Linked DNA regions of Homo sapiens: region 2 is linked to region 1. The links are contacts of gene promoters, found by promoter capture Hi-C in blood cells and fetal thymus (Javierre and others, 2016). All regions are on one chromosome and are shown on one strand. Each heading gives the region's core, a stretch centred on a gene start or on the middle of the fragment in contact. The rest is flanking DNA. Distances are from core to core; before and after follow the strand shown.

Region 1 (4,877 bases), core at 1,479-3,978:
TCCCCATCAAGCTACCAATGACTTTCTTCACAGAATTGGAAAAAACTACTTTAAAGTTCATATGGAACCAAAAAAGAGCCCGCATCGCCAAGTCAATCCTTAGCCAAAAGAACAAAGCTGGAGGCATCACACTACCTGACTTCAAACGATACTACAAGTCCACAGTAACCAAAACAGCATGGTACTGGTACCAAAACAGAGATATAGATCAATGGAACAGAACAGAGCCCTCAGAAATAACGCCGCATATCTACAACTATCTAATCTTTGATAAACCTGAGAAAAACAAGCAATGGGGAAAGTATTCCCTATTTCATAAATGGTGCTGGGAAAACTGGCTAGCCATATGTAGAAAGCTGAAACTGGATCCCTTCCTTACACCTTATACAACAATCAATTCAAGATGGATTAAAGACTTAAACGTTAGACCTAAAACCATAAAAACCCTAGAAGAAAACCTAGGCATTACCATTCAGGACATAGGCATGGGCAAGGACTTCATGTCTAAAACACCAAAAGCAACGGCAACAAAAGCCAAAATTGACAAATGGGATCTAATTAAACTAAAGAGCTTCTGCACAGCAAAAGAAACTACCATCAGAGTGAACAGGCAACCTACAAAATGGGAGAAAATTTTCACAATCTACTCATCTGAAAAAGGGCTAATATCCAGAATCTACAATGAATTCAAACAAATTTACAAGAAAAAAACAACCCCATCAAAAAGTGGGCGAAGGACATGAACAGACACTTCTCAAAAGAAGACATTTATGCAGCCAAAAAACACATGAAAAAATGCTCACCATCACTGGCCATCAGAGAAGTGCAAATCAAAACCACAATGAGATATCATCTCACACCAGTTAGAATGGCAATCATTAAAAAGTCAGGACACAACAGGTGCTGGAGAGGATGTGGAGAAATAGGAACACTTTTACACTGTTGGTGGGACTGTAAACTAGTTCAACCATTGTGGAAGTCAGTGTGGCGATTCCTCAGGGATCTAGAACTAGAAATACCATTTGACCCAGCCATCCCATTACTGGGTATATACCCAAAGGACTATAAATCATGCTGCTATAAAGACACATGCACACATATGTTCATTGCAGCATTATTCACAATAGCAAAGACTTGGAACCAAGCCAAATGTCCAACAATGATAGACTGGATTAAGAAAATGTGGCACATATACACCATGGAATACTATGCAGCCATAAAAAATGATGAGTTCATGTCCTTTGTAGGGACATGGATGAAATTGGAAATCCATTCTCAGTAAACTATCGCAAGAACAAAAAACCAAACACTGCATATTCTCACTCATAGGTGGGAATTGAACAATGAGAACACATGGACACAGGAAGGGGAACATCACACTCTGGGGACTGTTGTGGGGTGGGGGGAAGGGGGAGGGATGGCATTGGGAGATATACCTAATGCTAGATGATGGGTTAGTGGGTGCAGCGCACCAGCATGGCACATATATACATATGTAACTAACCTGCACATTGTGCACATGTACCCTAAAACTTAAGGTATAATAATAATAATTAATAAATAAATAAATCTAAGACCTGAGACCATAAAAAAAAATGTCTTCCAAATTATATCCTGTAACTAATTTAAGTGGAGGTGGGGGGAAGACGCACAAGTGCAGCAGGCCTCTTAATTTCCTTAAAACAGATTGAAACAATCTCTGAGGGGAAAAAAGAAGAAATAGAAGCTCATAATACTGAAACCAGCAGTTGATATTTCACAGTAGTTGGCAAATCTTCCTTCAGACTTGGGTCCACAAGATTGCCTGATTAAGCAAAGCCCTTCTGGAGTCAGATCTGGTGTAAACCTGAATCTGCCTGTCACTAGTTGTACAATCTTGGTTGGACGCGTCCCTTCACTTCTCTGAGCCTGACTTTCGTCATCTGTAAAATGGGAATGCTATGATCTCATAGGGTGGTTGTGACAAGAAAAGGAAGCATTGTTTTTAAGTCCTTACGTGCTTTTAATCCAGCCCTTTAAAAAGGCACTTAAATGTACCTTTTATTGTTTGGTTGGCTTGTTTTCCAGGAAATTAGTTCTTAAATATCATTATCTATAATTAACATAAACTCTAATCTAATATTCAGACAGACGGATGTCGATGCCATGGGTGGTTCTCCTTTAAAACCAAAAGCCTGGCGACCCCGCCCCAGCTCCCCTCAATTTTACCCCAGACCCACCTTAGGTTCCTCCACTACCGTTCGGCTGACTTCCCTCCCTTCACACTTAACACCACAGGTTGCCTTCCCCAGCACCTGCTAATTTTTCTTTCCTCTTCCCTTCCTGGCCTCCGCCTCGGCCCGCCACCTCCCTGGCTCTTTGAGTCCCTTCGTGGACGTCCCCGCCGCGCCCCAGGGGATGTGCGTGTAGTGGGGGAGAGTGGGTCATAGGGTCTGGTCTCACCATCTCTATTTTCAAAGCCCCTAGGGGACTGGAGAGGGGGTGACATTGCCCCCCAGAACGCCGAGCGCGCGAGGCGCGTACTCACCAGCCGCCGCGGTCGCTTCTTTCCAATGCGCGGAACTCGGCGCTCGCGGCACCTGGCACTCGTGGGAAGTTGCGGGGAAGGGGGACCTGGAGGAAGAGGGGCGATGCCGAGCTCTTCCTGAGGCGCCTGCGCAGTGGCAGGCGCCGCGCCGCGGGGCACAGCCCCAACGTCCCTATCTGCGCCGCTCGGGGCGCTCCGAGTGTGCGCAGCTGCCAGGCGAGCGTCTAAGGCGCCAGCTCAGGGCTGGCTGGGACCGGGCAGCAGAGTCTGAAACACGTCCTTGGATTGGATGCTAGAACCAGCGTTGAATGTAACTTTCTTTCCGATTGGTTAGACAGGTGCTTGGAGGGGTTGTATCGGACCTAAGAGTAGAGGTTGATTCCACTCTCCCACCACGCACTTTTCGTATCATCCTAGATCTGGATGCCCTTCATGGAACCTAAAAACCAGCGAGTCCCGGAAAGGCCTCAGGCAATTGCCAAGCCGATGGCCTTCTGCCACTTAGTTAATGTGCACCTGGCAGCTTAGGTGGCCGCGGAGAAAGCAACTTTGGCTGCACCAAGGTCCGGCACAAGTCTGGAGAAGCTTCAGCCAGTTCCAGTGAGTTGGGATAAATGAAACGTGGATCTACCATAGACGTCTGTCCGTCTTACTGGATAAGCGAGCACCTTTACCGGGGAAGTTAGGTAATAGTTTACAAGTAAGGTTAAAAGCAGCACAGTGCCTGCGGCAGGGAACCAGTAATGAGTTACAGCTGAGAAATGGGTGCTTACTTTGACAGACGCGTATGTGGGATTGTGCTCCTGCTTTTAATTGGAAGGTTATTTAATAGAATAATGTAACTAAACTTTCCAACATAAAGAGCAGTTACCAAACAGAAGTAGAATTATTCGCTAACAGTTGGGTTGTCCAGGCACACTTGGCAGTGAGAGGATAGCATCTTTTTTCTTTTTATCTGTAGTGCCAAACAGAACTTGGTATAGAAGTACTTGCTAAATCACTATTGAATTTAATTGTCCCGCTTGTTAAAATGCAGGCTCCAGAAGGTATTTTCTTTCTTGTTCACTACTGTATCTCCAGCTCAAATAAAAAGTACAAATAAATTAAGAATATTAATCACATGTGATATCCTCAAGTGTTAAGTATTTAATAGCTGTAAATCCAGTACCTGGATTAGTAAACTGCAGTACTGGACCTTAGATAACAAATTCTGACGTTGGTCCCCTTGGTCTGAACCTTACAGTATAGCTATTACCAACAATCTGGAAGCAGCCATGGAGATGATTTGGCAATAGATGTATTCCGTTGATTATTAGTTTGTGCCTTGATAAATTAATTCCAGTTTTAAGTCTCAGGTTGGCCTGTGCATTGGTGAATATGGGCATCTTAGATCCATGGGCTTTCAGAGCTGGAGGGGATGGTAGTGGGTCTGTAGCTGAATCCCTAGAACCTGCAGACCCTAGAACCTGGTTTGAATACTCACTCTGTCACTCACCAGCAGAGCAATCATGGGCCAGTGTCTCAACCTATTTGAGCTTTCATTTCCTCATCTGCAAAACGCGTCTTGTTACAATACCAACCTCTTACTATCAAATGAATGAGGAAAGCGAGTAGAGTATTCAGCACAGTATCTGACACATGTTGTTTTGGGGATTATTATCATTATGACCAAAAAAGTACCCCAATTTGAACAATAGTCAGGGTAAGGCCAAGTTTTGGGGGAATTTAGGTAATGTCCAATGACATAACATTTAAGATTAGCAGAACTTAAATTTTGTGGCATTTGGGGGTATTGTGCATATCCTGTTTGTTCATTCAGTAGGTGCATATGTATGCTTAAAGGGTGGACAAAACTGAATGCCATCTAGGTCAGATGTGTGGTGAAGATAGCAGCTGGATGGGCATCAGGAGAGGACTCTCTTTATCCACTGCTACTGCCTGTGTGGCTGGGTTAAATTAGGGAGTCTCATGCCACCTGGGCTCTTGCTCTGTAAGATAAAGTGGTCAGGAACAGAGGGACAAAATGACACATAAGGACCTTTGGCCCTAAACTTTTGTTATCCTCTATATATTTACCATTTCAACCACAACCAAAATCCTGTTATAGTAAGGATATTTATCGTCTTGTGGAACAAGAAGTCCAGAGGTAAGGCAGACTTCAGGACTGGTTGAGTTAGCAACTCAACGATTTCATAATGTACTCAGTTCTTTGCAGCTTTACACTTGGCTTTTAACAGAGTAGACTTCTGGTTCCTTTAGTGGTAAATATAACTACCAGCAGCAACAGGAACCATGTAATTCATTTTTCACTTCCACTGGGTGATAGAAATGACGTCTAGATTTCTTCTGT
Region 2 (4,877 bases), core at 1,164-3,663, 260 kb before region 1:
TAAGCCCTAATATTACTGGGAGTGCAGAGATGACTAGCACATGATCTAGCCCTGGAGGAGCTGATAGGCAAGTGCGGAGGCTGGTACCCCAGCGGGTAATATCGCTGTCATCAGTACTTTGGGAAGCACCTGGGCATGGAGGATTGAGAGTGCCTTGAAGTTCTGGGAGCCCTCCCTGAAGGAGATGATTCCTGAGCTGAGTCTGGAAGAATAAATAGAAGGAGAGGAAGGACATTCCAGTGAGAGGAAACAGTGTAAAGAAAACTGGGGAGTCTGAAACAGCAGGCTGAGTGAGTGCAGGTAGCTGCAAAAAAATTGCTATCATCAGAATGCAAAGAAAGAGACAGTAGTGATGGGAGATTAAGCTGAAGCTTGCATCAAACTTTGCTTGCCTTTCTCCTATGGAATCTAGACTATATCCTGTGGTCACAGGAAGCCTCTGAAACTATTTTTTTTTCTTTTAAATAATTAGGATAGTATTCGTCTGACCTGCCTTCTGGTTTCTTTTGCCTTCAAAGTTGCCCAAAGAGTACCATTGAGGTAATTTTCTACCTCATGATATATAGAAAACTTTTGACTTATTTACATGTTTTCATAGGTTTTACATCTCTTCTTTTTTTAAAAGTTTTATTTTACTTTAAGTTCTGGGATACACGTGCAGTACGTGCAGGTTTGTTACATAGGTATACGCGTGCCATGGTGGTTTGCTGCACCTATCAACCTGTCATCTAGGTTTTAAGCCCCACATGCATTAGCTATTTGTCCTGATGCTCTCCCCACTCTGCCGGCTCCCCAACACAGGCCCCGGTGTGTGATGTTCACCTCCCTGTGTCCATGTGTTTTCATTGTTGAACTCCCACTTATGAGGGAAAACATGCAGTGTTTGGTGTTCTGTTCCTGTTTTAGTTTGCTGAGGATGATGGCTTTCAGCTTCATCCATGTCCCTGCAAAGGACATGATCTCATTCCTTTTAATGGCTGCATAGTATTCTGTGGTGTGTATGTACCACATTTTCTTTATCCAGTCTATCATTGATGGACATTAAGGTTGATTGCATGTCTTTGCTATTGTAAATAGTGCAGCAATAAACATACATGTGCATGTATCTTTATAGCAGAATGATTTATAATCCTTTGGGTATATATCCAGTAATGGGCTTACTGGGTCAAATGGTATTTCTGGTTCTAGATCCTTCAGGAATTGCCACACTGCCTTCCACGATGGTTGAACTAACATTCCCACCAACAGTGTAAAAGTGTTCATATTTCACCACAGCCTCGCTGACATCTGTTGTTTCTTTTTTTTAAAATTTATTTATTTTATTATTATTATTATTATTTATTATACTTCAAGTTCTAGGGTACATGTGCACAACGTGCAGGTTTGTTACATATGTATACATGTGCCATGTTGGTGTGCTACACCCATTAACTCGTCATTTACATTGGGTATATCTCCTAATGCTTTCCCTCCCCCCTACCCCCACCCCACAACAGGCCCCAGCGTGTGATGTTCCCCTTCCTGGGTCCAAGTGTTCTCATTGTTCAATTCCCACCTATGAGTGAGAACGTGCGGTGTTTGGTTTTTTGTTCTTGTGATAGTTTGCTGAGAATGATGGTTTCCAGCTTCATCCATGTCCCTACAAAGGACATGAACTCATCCTTTTTTATGGCTGCATAGTATTCCATGGTTTATATGTGCCACATTTTCTTAATCCAGTCTATCATTGATGGACATTTGGGTTGGTTCCAAGTCTTTGCCATTGTGAACAGTGCCACAATAAACATACGTGTGCATATGTCTTTATAGCAGCATGATTTATAATCCTTTGGGTATATACCCAATAATGGGATCGCTGGGTCAAATGGTATTTCTAGTTCTACATCCTTGAGGAATCGCCACACTGTCTTCCACAATGGTTGAACTAGTTTACAGTCCCATCAACAGTGTAAAAGTGTTCCTATTTCTCCACATCCTCTCCAGCACCTGTTGTTTCCTGACTTTTTAATGATCACCATTCTAACTGGTGTGAGATGGTATCTCATTGTGGTTTTCATATGCATTTCTCTGATGGCCAGTGGTGATGAGCATTTTTTCATGTGTCTGTTGGCTGCATAAATGTCATCTTTTGAGAAGTGTCTGTTCATATCCTTCACCCACTTTTTGATGGGGTTGTTTGTTTTTTTCTTGTACATTTGTTTGAGTTCTTTGTAGATTCTGGATATTAGCCCTTTGTCAGATGAGTAGATTGCAAAAATTTTCTCCCATTCTGTAGGTTGCCCGTTCACTCTGATGGTAGTTTCTTTTGCTGTGCAGAAGCTCTTTAGTTTAATTAGATCCTATTTGTCAATTTTGGCTTTTGTTGCCATTGCTTTTGGTGTTTTAGACATGAAATCCTTGCCCATGCCTGTGTCCTGAATGGTATTGCCTAAGTTTTTTTCTAGGGTTTTTATGGTTTTAGGTCTAACATTTAAGTCTTTAGTCCATCTTGAATTAATTTTTGTATAAGGTGTAAGGAAGGGATCCAGTTTCAACTTTCTACATATGGCTAGCCCGTTTTCTCAGCACCATTTATTAAATAGGGAATCCTTTCCACATTTCTTGTTTTTGTCAGGTTTGTCAAAGATCAGATGGTTGTAGATGTGTGGTATTATTTCTAAGGGCTCTGTTCTGTTCCATTGGTCTATATCTCTGTTTTGGTACCAGTACCATGCTGTTTTGGTTACTGTGGCCTTGTAGTATAGTTTGAAGTCAGGTAGCGTGATGCCTCCAGGTTTGTTCTTTTGGCTTAGGATTGTCTTGGCAATGTGGGCTCTTTTATGGTTCCATATGAACTTTAAAATAGTTTTTTCCAATTCTGTGAAGAAAGTCATTGGTAGCTTAACTGTTGTTTCTTGAGTTTTTAATAATCCATTGACTGGCATGATAGCGTGAGATGGTATCTCATTAGTTTTTAGTTTAGTTTTTTTTTTTTTTTTTTTTGTGAGACAGAGTTTTGCTCTTGTCACCCAGGCTGGGGTACAGTGGCGCGATCTCGGCTCACTGCAACCTCCACCTCCCTAGTTCAAGCAATTCTCCTGCCTCAGCCTCCCGAGTAGCTGGGATTACAAGCACACACCACCACACCTGGCTAATTTTTTTTTTTTTTGTATTTTTAGTAGAGACGGGGTTTTGCCATGTTGGCCAGGCTTGTCTCAAACTCCTGACCTCAGGTGATTCACTCGCCTTGGCCTCTCAGAGTGCTGGGATTACAGGTGTGAGCCACCGCACCCGGCCTCCTTGTGGTTTTGATTTGCATTTCTCTAATGATCAGTGATGTTGAGCTTTTTTTCATGTTTGTTGGCCGCATAACTGTCGTCTTTTGAGAAGTGTCTGTTCATATCCTTTGTCCACTTTTTGATGGGGTGTTTGTCTTTTTCTAGTAAATTTATTTAAGTTCCTTGTAAATTCTGGATATTAGACCTTTGTCAGAAGGGTAGATTGCAAAAATGTTCTCCCGTTCTCTAGGTTGCCTGCTCGACTGATGATAGTTTCTTTTGCTGTGCGGAAGCTCTTTAGTTTAATTAGATCCCATTTGTCAATTTTTGCATGTGTTGCAATTGCTTTTGGCATTTTCATCATGAAATCTTTGCCCATGCCTATGTCCTGAATGGTATTGGCTAGGTTTTCTTCTAGGATTTTTATGGTTTTGGGTTTTATATTTAAGTCTTTTTTTTTTTTTTTTTTTTTTTTGAGAGAGAGAGAGTCTTGTTTTGCTGCCCAGGCTGGAGTGCAATGGCATGATCTTGGCTCACTGCAACTTCTGCCTCCCAGGTTCAAACGATTCTCATGCCTCAGCCTCCTGAGTAGCTGGGATTATAGGCATGCGCCACCATGCCCTGCTAATTTTTGTATTTTTAGTAGAAACAGGGTTTCACCATGTTGGCCAGGCTGGTCTCGAACTCCTGACCTCAAGTGATCTGCCCACCTCGGCCTCCCAAAGTGCTGGGATTACAGGCATGAGCCACTGTGCCCAGCCCTACATTTAAGTCTTTAATCCATCTTGAGTTAATTTTTGTATAAGGTGTAAGAAAAGGGTCCAGTTTCGGTTTTCTGCTTATGGCTAGCCCGTTTTCCCAGCACCATTTATTAAATAGGGAAACGTTTCCCCATTGCTTGTTTTTAGGTTTTGCATTTCAGCTTCTTACTAATCATGCTCTGCCCCTTCTAGCCTGAATAGTATTTATAGTGATAGAAAAGATGCAAATTTGGAGCAGGGCAGTGGTGCCTTGTCTACTGTGTGCAGTTCCTTGGTGTATTGTAGAATGCTGCTAATTCTCTGTTTGGCTACTGAATGCTCTCCTTGCAGATTTGTGCCTCTCCTGTATTTTCCTTGGGTTGGAGTCATCCTCCTGTATTTGATATACTTTAAAATGGTTTGAAGCAAAGTGGTTAGTGGAAAGAACATAAGCTTTGAAATCACAGAGACTTAAAGGTTCCTTTTATGATTTTAGAAAATTTTAGTTTGGAAAATTTCAAACATATGCAAAGTAAACAGAGTAAGTATAATGAGCCCCTAGTAGCCATCACCCTTGTCCAGCACTAATCAACATTCTGCCATTCTTGTTTCAGTCCTAATTCCAGTCCCTCCTCATTTCCCCTGGATTATTTTTTCAGTGCTTTAAATTCATTTATTTATAATGTACCTACATGGTGATGCACTATCTTAAGTGTGTGATTTTGACGAATGTATATATCCATTTGCCTCACACTCCTTTCGCCATAGAGAACATTTCCATTTCTCCAGAAAAGTCCCTTGTATCACTTCCCAAGCAGTCTGCTTCTCCCTCTGGATGCAAGCATGGTTTTGACTTATGTCACCTTAGATAAGTTTGACC

Evidence for each region. Contacts are between HindIII fragments. The CHiCAGO score rates a contact against its expected background, and 5 or more counts as called.
Region 2: a fragment that was not itself captured here is called in contact with the fragment with the promoter of ENPP4 in region 1 in 1 of 17 cell types (total B cells); the score reaches 5.2 in total B cells.

Annotation. Positions count from the first base shown.
Region 1 is chr6:46,127,840-46,132,716 of GRCh38, reverse strand. ENPP4 (ectonucleotide pyrophosphatase/phosphodiesterase 4) reads right to left here and starts at 2,728. Exons shown (of 4, transcript NM_014936.5): 1 at 2,528-2,728. It also overlaps a transcript of CLIC5 not described here. The HindIII fragment of the contact is 7,807 bases long and covers 1-3,114 here.
Region 2 is chr6:46,384,716-46,389,592 of GRCh38, reverse strand. The region is part of intron 2 of RCAN2 (regulator of calcineurin 2); the gene reads left to right. Among named protein-coding and RNA genes, the nearest start is that of RCAN2, 100 kb to the left of the region's middle. The HindIII fragment of the contact is 4,079 bases long and covers 374-4,452 here.